Regions from separate parts of the Homo sapiens genome. Here region 2 is linked to region 1. The links are contacts of gene promoters, found by promoter capture Hi-C in blood cells and fetal thymus (Javierre and others, 2016). All regions are on one chromosome and are shown on one strand. Each heading gives the region's core, a stretch centred on a gene start or on the middle of the fragment in contact. The rest is flanking DNA. Distances are from core to core; before and after follow the strand shown. Region 1 holds the start of SLC35E3 (solute carrier family 35 member E3). Region 2 overlaps CAND1 (cullin associated and neddylation dissociated 1).

Region 1 (4,536 bases), core at 975-3,474:
CAAAAAATTCATACCAAAACAAATACAGACTAGATTTGGGGTGGGGAGGGGAAATAAGTGAGTCTTAAAAGTAGTTTTGTTACTTGCAACAAACTGTATATATAGAAACTTTGTACAACCCAGGGTGACTATTTCCAAAGACTGTTACCTATTTGTTGAACAACAGTGGGAAAACTACTTAGCCTAAATGAGGAGGAGGAATATTGTATGCTTCCATCGTAACCGTATGTGGGTAAATGGACAAGGTCTGTCATCTATTTAGGAACTTGTTTTGCATGTCCCCCACTCTGTATTTGTCTTTTGTTGTGCCTTGTTTTTTGAATGTCCTTTAAAAAACACAGCACAGAAACCCACTAAGGTTGTGGAATTACAAAATTCCTTCAACCTTAGACTCTTAATTAGGATGCCCTCAAATGGACTTGTTTTTAATTTTTATTTATTTATTTATTTTTGAGACATGGTCTTGCTCTGTCTCCCAGGCCGGAGTGCAGTGGCATGATATCTCACTGCAAACCTCCGCCTCCTGGGTTCAAGCGATTCTCCTGCCTCAGCCTCCCTAGTAGCTGGGATTACAGGCGCCTGCCACCACGCCTGGCTAATTTTTGTATTTTTAGTAGAGACGGGGTTTTGCCATGTTGGCCAGGCTGGTCTCAAACTCTTGACCTCAAGTGATCCACTCGCCTCGATCTCTCAAAGTGCTGGGATTACAGGCATAAGCCACTGCACCCAGCCAATTGGACTCCTTTGAGTCCTTAGGGAGTCAATGTGTGTGTTGCTGCTTATTTAAATACAGTTCAGTTGGAGCCCCAAGAGTGCCAATGTGCTCCTCACAATTCCCAAATGCCTCTCTTCCTGAACACCAGAAGTGGTGGGCACCTGAGTGGGAAATTTCAGGCAACTTAATTTAGTTCCTCAGTGCCTACTCTTGAAGAACTGGGTTTTCATTCTAGAGAGGAAACTCAGGGAAGGGCGTGTTGCCTATCACAGGTTCGCATACTAAGTTTTAAAAACTTTTCTTGGTGTGACTTATGCCAAGGAATTATGAAGACTTTTTCCTTGAGCATTGCATGAAGGCTACAAAGTTGGAACAGGCATGTCCTGGGTGTGAAAGTTTTAATTTCCCTACCTCATTTATTTATTTAATTTAGAGATGGGGGTCTCACTATGTTGCCCATCCCGGCTTCCAACTCCTGGGCTCAAGCAATCCTCCCACGTCAGTCTCTCAAATAGCTGGGACTACAGGCCCACGCCACCATGCCCTACTTCCTCATTTATTTTAAATTTTTTGTACCACAGTCTCTCTTTTTAATTTTATGACTGCTGAATTAATCCTAGACTCTGTCTTAAAACTAAGAATTGATGTATTGGCAGGAACAGCTGGACATTCAAGATGTTTTTGTGATTCCTTTTTTAAAAATCTCCTTTTGTACCTGTAATATCTACAATATATAATCTTTCTTTATCGACTTAAGGAGGAAGGAGAAAGGAAGAACCTGACTTCTGTGTGAAGGACCTTACTGTCGATCAAGACTGTTACTCAAAGTTCTATCTCTTAGTCATTGCACCTGACCTGATCCAAAACATATATATATATTTGTATGCACCCCTAGAGACAGCTGTATATATATACGGTTTTGCCAGGTTGTACGTTTTTTTCTCGAGTTGTAAGTGAACACAGTAGCACTCGTTTACATTGTCAAGGGGACATCTTTAGAGAACACATTTTCTCACTGTTGAGCTAATAATGCTTTGTGAATGTATGATCTAAGGAGAAACCCTTGTAGTTATACCCGATGATGCTGTCTGTTGGAAAGTAAATTTTGAATGTCTTTTTCCAAAAATAAAAAATAAAAACATGCTTTCAATAAGTTCTTTCCCCCCTCTGGCGAGGGCTACTAAATTTGCTCAGCATTTAATACGTAAAATTGGCTAACAGTGTCTGCACAGCCAGAGAGAAGTTGTCTAGCAAATCGGGTCAATGACACACAGGAAACAAACATCAAGAAAGGGGTCCTAGATTGGTCCAGTCAGGTAGGCGTTAGGTGACCAAGGGGGTCGGGGACCCAGAGGATAGGACCCAAAGACGCAAGCGTCGCGCGCCCAAGGCTCAGCGCGCCTGCGCAGGGTAGCGGCCGTTCAGCCAGCGGCTCGGGGGCGGAAGCACTGGAGCCCCGAGTCACGTGGCTGCGGGCGGAGATGAGCGGGGCGTGGGACGTGCTGCGGCGTCCTAGCTGGCTTACAGGGCGGCGGCGGGGTGTGTGTCCTCTGTTAAGAGTGCTACTCGCCCGGGGTTGATCTGTGCATGCCACTCCTGGGTCAGACGGTGAGGTCGGCGTCTGCGAGGACGCGGCGGTGGAGTAGAAGGGCAGCCGGAGACAGGCCCGGCGCCCCTTCCGAGGCTAGACGGCCCCAGCTTCGCGGGGATCATGGCATTGCTGGTGGACCGAGTGCGGGGCCACTGGCGAATCGCCGCCGGGCTCCTGTTCAACCTGCTGGTGTCCATCTGCATTGTGTTCCTCAACAAATGGATTTATGTGTACCACGGCTTCCCCAACATGAGCCTGACCCTGGTGCACTTCGTGGTCACCTGGCTGGGCTTGTATATCTGCCAGAAGCTGGACATCTTTGCCCCCAAAAGTCTGCCGCCCTCCAGGCTCCTCCTCCTGGCCCTCAGCTTCTGTGGCTTTGTGGTCTTCACTAACCTTTCTCTGCAGAACAACACCATAGGCACCTATCAGCTGGCCAAGGCCATGACCACGCCGGTGATCATAGCCATCCAGACCTTCTGCTACCAGAAAACCTTCTCCACCAGAATCCAGCTCACGCTGGTGAGTAGCTTCAGCTTCCCAAGGCGCCGCTCTCCCGACCCACCTCCTGCACTGGCCCCGGGAAATTCGAACGCACACTGGTCTTTCCCTTCATCTTGAAATCCACAAATGAGTCATCTGTGGGCATGTGAACTTTTAGGCTTATTTTAGGGAGGGGGAAAAGGCCATCTTGTCAGCCCAGAAGAGTGGGCATGTGTGAATTTTAGTAGCTGCCATTTGATGGAAATCGTTAAATGCTGTGATCGATAAGAAAAAAAGCTGTATTGGGTGGTACAGTCCAGTGTTATCAGAATATCTGCAAAAGCTCAAACAAAAACAGCCTTTCTCCCCCAGGGGAATCAAATCGTGTATGATAAAACGTGAAAAGATGTAGCATAAAGTAGGTCTCAAAACGTCTGCAGCACCATACTTTAGAGCTGTCTGCATCTTTAAATAAAAGGAGGTGGACTCAATTTTAGCACTTAGTAACTTATTTAAGGTCTTTTTCTTTTTTTTTTTTTTCTTTTTGAGACGGAATTTCACTCTTGTTGCCCAGGCTGGAGTGCAATGGCACGATCTCGGCTCACCGCAACCTCCGCCTCCCGGGTTTAAGCGATTCTCCTGCCTCAGCCTCCCGAGTAGCTGGGATTACAGGCATGCGCCACCACGCCCGGCTAATTTTGTATTTTTAGTAAAGACGGGGTTTCTCCATGTTAATCAGGCTGGTCTCGAACTCTGACCTCAGGTGATCTGCCCGCCTTGGCCTCCGAAAGCGCTGGGGTTACAGTGGTGAGCCACCGTGCCTGGCCTTATATTTAAGGTCTTTATGCTTTTATTGTTTTATATTTATGCTTATGCTGTTTAGACACTAGTTTGGGGATCCATTTACTCACCTTTGTATTCATGTGGTATTTTCTTGCAAAGTGCAATATATTTACCACAAATTTAGAATGGAATTAAATGTGAATATCAATATAGATTTGTCATATTTCACGTTTAGGAAATAGGATTAACAACTAGTTTTCCCAAGTCAAAACAGAAAACATTTATACAGGTTCATTGTTTCCCAGTTATGTGTTTATCATTAGCCTTGTAAGACATTGTGAAAGGAATACTAAATTTTTGTCTCTTGAATTTAATCTGAACAACATTTACCTCTTTTTCGTTACAGATTCCTATAACTTTAGGTGTAATCCTAAATTCTTATTACGATGTGAAGTTTAATTTCCTTGGAATGGTGTTTGCTGCTCTTGGTGTTTTAGTTACATCCCTTTATCAAGTGGTTGGTAATTTTTTTTTCTTTATGTGCCTTTTTAGCAGATTTCATAAATTTTGAAGCTGTATTCCAAGGTTTAGAAAATACAGTATAGAGACAATAGACTGTTGGGAAGAAAGCATAATTGCATAAGTTGTCTGACTCAAGGTGAAGAGAAGAAAGGAGACAGAGAAACTTGGGTGTGTGATGCTCACCAAATACCTACCTGTTTGTAAGTGTATAATATCCATGCTTAACAGTCTCAGCTTGGGGTGAAGTTATTTTCTGGGAAATCTTTACAAAATACCTAGTAAGACTTTTTACTTCCTAAGTTTGTTATGTTTTCTGTTTACTCTTTACTTTTAACATTGTTGTGAAGGAGTGAGTATACTTCCAGAAATCTGAACAGTAATGAAAAATTTCAGATTTTTAGATGTTTTTGCCTCAAAAATTATACTGCTGTTACAACTTGTT
Region 2 (4,530 bases), core at 1,723-4,222, 1.4 Mb before region 1:
AAGTGCTGGGATTATAGGCATGAGCCACCATTCCTGGCACAGAAAATCATTTAGAGATTTTGGAAGGAGAAAGTGACAAGATGATTGTGTAGTTTTGGTTGTTGTTGTTTGTGTTTGGTTTTGGTTTTGAGACAGGTTTTGGCCCAGGCTGGAGTGCATTGGCATGATCATGGCTCATTGCAGCCTCAATTTACCAGGCTCAGGTGATCCTCCCACTTCAGCCTCCTGAGCAGCTGGGACTACAGGCATGCACCACCACACGCAGCTAATTTTTGTGTTTTTTGTAGAGATGAGGTTTTGCCATGTTGCCCAGGCTGGTCTCGAACTCCTGGGGTCAAGTGATCTGCCTGCCTCAGCCTCCCAAAGTGCCGGGATTACAGGTGTGAGCCTTCACACCCAGACTTGTGGTTTTTGTTTTTGTTTTTTAATATTTTCCCAAGCCAATCAATTAGATATCCTATAATTGGGGATTTAGGTCTAGATTCCCGGAGTCAGTTTGGCAATGTAAATTTCAGTGCTGCATTCACTTAGCTCAGGTTTCAGTTGCATTGGTAGATAAAGTGATAATTTAATTTTTCTTTCACTATGAATTAGTCTCAACTAAATTTGTGTTCTGAATATTTGCATTGAGGTCAGAGGCCAGACATTTAGTAGTGGCCAGGCATCTTGAATTCATTTGTTGTTTTCTTTCTTTTTTTATTTTATTTTAAGGCAAGGAGGACTTCTTGTTAATTTCCATCCTTCAATTCTGACCTGTCTACTTCCCCAGTTGACCAGCCCTAGACTTGCAGTGAGGAAAAGAACCATTATCGCTCTTGGCCATCTGGTTATGAGCTGTGGAAATATAGTTTTTGTAGATCTTATTGAACATCTGTTGTCAGAGTTGTCCAAAAATGATTCTATGTCAACAACAAGAACCTACATACAATGTATTGCTGCTATTAGTAGGCAAGCTGGTCATAGAATAGGTAAGAAATCTTTAAAAGTTTTACAGTTTTCTTTAATTAAAAAAATTAATGCATGTTTTTAAAGAACCATTATGCTTTTCTTAGGTGAATACCTTGAGAAGATAATTCCTTTGGTGGTAAAATTTTGCAATGTAGATGATGATGAATTAAGAGAGTACTGTATTCAAGCCTTTGAATCATTTGTAAGAAGGTAAGTTTTTAAGATCTCTATTTTTTACAAAAAGTTTTTCCTTAAGAGTAGAATCATAAGGTCTACATTAGGTGTGTGAGGAGAAGCGGCCTTTTGGATTTCAGATATAACAGACAATACAGTATTTGAAACTAATGTCATCTTGCTATTATAAAATGTGGTCATCACATTTATTTTGAAAATTTTCCTTGTCATTGTTAGGACTTTATTTAAAGAATTTTGGAAAGGTATTTATAATTATTTTGGGTTTACTTTAGAAGGGAAGAAATGCCAGTGTAATAATGTAGTCTGTACTGAAAGCCCAGCAGGATAAATTATTCGTCAGAAATAAGTAGTGAATTGCCTTTTCAACAATTTCTTAGGTCACATCCATTTTGCTAGGTCAGTGATTCTCAATTTGGAAACTGATTCTAATATATTTTTTAAAAGCTTAGTAAAAGTTGTGTATTTGTGTACTAGAAGGCAATACAAGATAAGTAACATTATTTTTCCTCTTGACTAATGCAGTAGCATGGTGTCTTGAGACCTTACTGGTTGTTTTCTGCATTTATCCCTTGACACTCCTGGTTTTGAGAAGTGGCTTTTAATCATACCATATTCTGAAAATCAGAAATTGTTAGATTCATTTTTGTTCCTTTAGTTGAGAAACACAAAGTATTCTTTTATTTGCTGGCCCTGTGGGCATTTATATGTTCTGTCCTCTCATTACATCGGTAGAAGACCAAGCCTAGGTGAATATGCACTGGCATTTCCACAAATAATCCTAGTTACTGAAGAGCACATTCATCTGGGTTTGGTTTTCTAATAACATGTTGATTATATACCGATTTCTGTCTATACTGCCATACATTAACCATAACATAGTTAAAATCGGGATTAGGGGAGTTCATCTTAAAATTGATTAAATAAGTACAATTTGAAAGGTAAACCTTTTAAAATAGTAAGTCCATGGGAGAGAAAGAGCAAGAATCATTGGTGCTAGATAGTCTGGGAACTACTGTCCTATGTTATTGCTGGTAATAAAGCAAAATGTGGCAGGTAATGAATCAAGGAGTAAAATGCAGCTCTTCAAGGCAGCTTTTGTTTTTGTCTTTAGATGTCCTAAGGAAGTATATCCTCATGTTTCTACCATTATAAATATTTGTCTTAAATATCTTACCTATGATCCAAATTATAATTACGATGATGAAGATGAAGATGAAAATGCAATGGATGCTGATGGTGGTGATGATGATGATCAAGGTATTGCAAATTAAATAGAATCTTTTGAGTTTTTGTGAAAGACACTTATAGATGGAGATGATTCTTAGTCCAAATTGTACTGTTTGTTTTATTTAGTTATAATAGTGAAAAGGGAAATGATCTCAATATTTGACAACAGCAAATTAAGTTAGAGGGCATCCATGTATTGAACTGTTATGCAACACATTAAAAAATCATGTCTAAAAATCATTCATTAATGCTGTTAATAAGGTGAGTGAAAAGTATGTAGCAAAAATTGCTCACCATAGCCCAATTTTATTTCTTTAAGTATACAGAAAAAAATCTGTATATTTACAACTAGTACTATTACCACTTGTTTTCTCTTGGCTAGGAACTATGTATGATTTTTGGTTTTAAGTACTATTCAAATTTTCTACAAAGCATTTTTGTAAGGAGATAAACCAAGGTTTTAGAAAGAATTGAATCTGTAGATATACATATTTAGGGCAGCTTGGCTTGAAAGAATATTAGTTTGTTTATTCATAGTTCATGAAAAATTCTAAATACTGTTCGAGGCCCCATTTAACATTCATTAATAGCTTACAACATTTCTGAGGCTCCTAAGATTGATGTAATCACACGATGATTTATGATATTTACTCTGGAAAGTAGTAGCAGCACTTCAAGGACATAGGGGTTGCTCATGTCAGTTGTTTCTGTTTGTATTGGAAGAATCATAATAACAAATATTTAAGTTGGTAAATTACTAGGTAAACAGGTTGGTGGATTTTTTGTTATTTTTGAGAATACTTTTTAGTTTGATTCTTTGAATGAATTTACATAACAGCTTTCCTGTCAAGTCAGTAATTTCACCCATCTTTAAAAAACAAGTACCAAAAGAGTTTCTTAACACCATATACTCCTCTAGCAGCTGCTGCCTAGTTTCTCTCCTCCACAACAGAGCTCCTTAAAAGAATGCAGTTCCATTTTCTTTTTTCCATTCTCTCTTGAATCCACTCCTCCAGTGATGGATGAGATTGCAAATGTTTGACTCTGCCTATCGTATTACTCAGTCTCGGCAACATTTCTTTATTTAGCTTCTGGGATACCATTCTAGCCTGGATGTAGTCCTATCGTTGTGATTACTCCAGTCTTCGATGCTGTTTCTTCTTCTTCACCCTGACCACTGTACTTAGAGTATCCCAAGGCTCAGTCCTTGAACTTAACCTGTTATACTGTTGATTTTTTTGTTGATCTCATCTAGTCTCCTGGCTTTAATATCAATATGCTGGCAACCCACATCCTATCTTTAATCCAGATCTCACTTGTGAATCCAGATTCATATGCAACTGCTTAATTAATATTGCTGCTTGGATATCTAAAATATCTTTTCCCTGCCCCTTCCCCATCTCCCACCTAACCTGTTCTTCTTTAGCCTTTTCCATCTCAGAATGGTACCTCTATTCTTCTTAGTTGATCAGGCCAAAAACCTTGCAGTCATACCTGATTCCTTTTTCACACATCCCTCAGCTAGTCTTCCACCTCAGAACTATCTTTCATTTTATTGTTTTTATTTTGTTTATCACACTTAGTAACTTTCTGACATACTGTAATTGATGGTCTCCTACCTATTAGAATATAAGTTTCATGAAGGCTAGATGTTTTAATCTCTTGATTGACTGCTTTATTCCAGTGCCTAGGACAGTACTTGACACACAGGCAATCAATAAATGGGTTGTATTAATGAAGGGAAACTTTAGCTTATATTTTAATATGAATATCTTTTGAAGAAAGCAGTAGCAATGTATATTCCAGGTTTTGAATTTTGTTTTTTTGTGTGCTGTATAACAAACTAGGTACTTCACCTGCTTTATCACTTAGTATGAATTATACCCATTAAATGACTTTTCTACCATGGTGTTTTTGTGATTTATAAAATCAACGTAATTTTAGTGAATAAGGACATTTGTTAATTTTTTATAATCTTGTTTTTAATAAAGCTTATATTTCTGGGAGGCAATTGCCATAGTGTATTGACATGGAAAAAATTTTATGTGCTCTTAACTTGATAGTGTATTTTGGCAGTATCTTTTAACTTTATTTGAATAGATATTGGTAAATAAGCAAACGTCTTGCATTTAGCAGTATTTGGTTGTATTTTCCTGTAAT

Evidence for each region. Contacts are between HindIII fragments. The CHiCAGO score rates a contact against its expected background, and 5 or more counts as called.
Region 2: a fragment that was not itself captured here is called in contact with the fragment with the promoter of SLC35E3 in region 1 in 1 of 17 cell types (naive CD8 T cells); the score reaches 6.4 in naive CD8 T cells.

Annotation. Positions count from the first base shown.
Region 1 is chr12:68,743,952-68,748,487 of GRCh38, forward strand. It overlaps SLC35E3 (solute carrier family 35 member E3), which reads left to right and starts at 2,225. Exons shown (of 5, transcript NM_018656.5): 1 at 2,225-2,828; 2 at 3,979-4,089. The coding sequence starts at 2,427. It overlaps NUP107 (nucleoporin 107), which reads left to right. Exons shown (of 28, transcript NM_020401.4): 28 at 1-1,858. RefSeq lists enhancers at 1,898-2,588, 2,438-2,537, 2,588-2,697, 3,058-3,247. The HindIII fragment of the contact is 13,773 bases long and covers 1-4,536 here.
Region 2 is chr12:67,296,696-67,301,225 of GRCh38, forward strand. It overlaps CAND1 (cullin associated and neddylation dissociated 1), which reads left to right. Exons shown (of 15, transcript NM_018448.5): 5 at 712-968; 6 at 1,053-1,158; 7 at 2,255-2,400. Among named protein-coding and RNA genes, the nearest start is that of CAND1, 30 kb to the left of the region's middle. The HindIII fragment of the contact is 2,774 bases long and covers 1,586-4,359 here.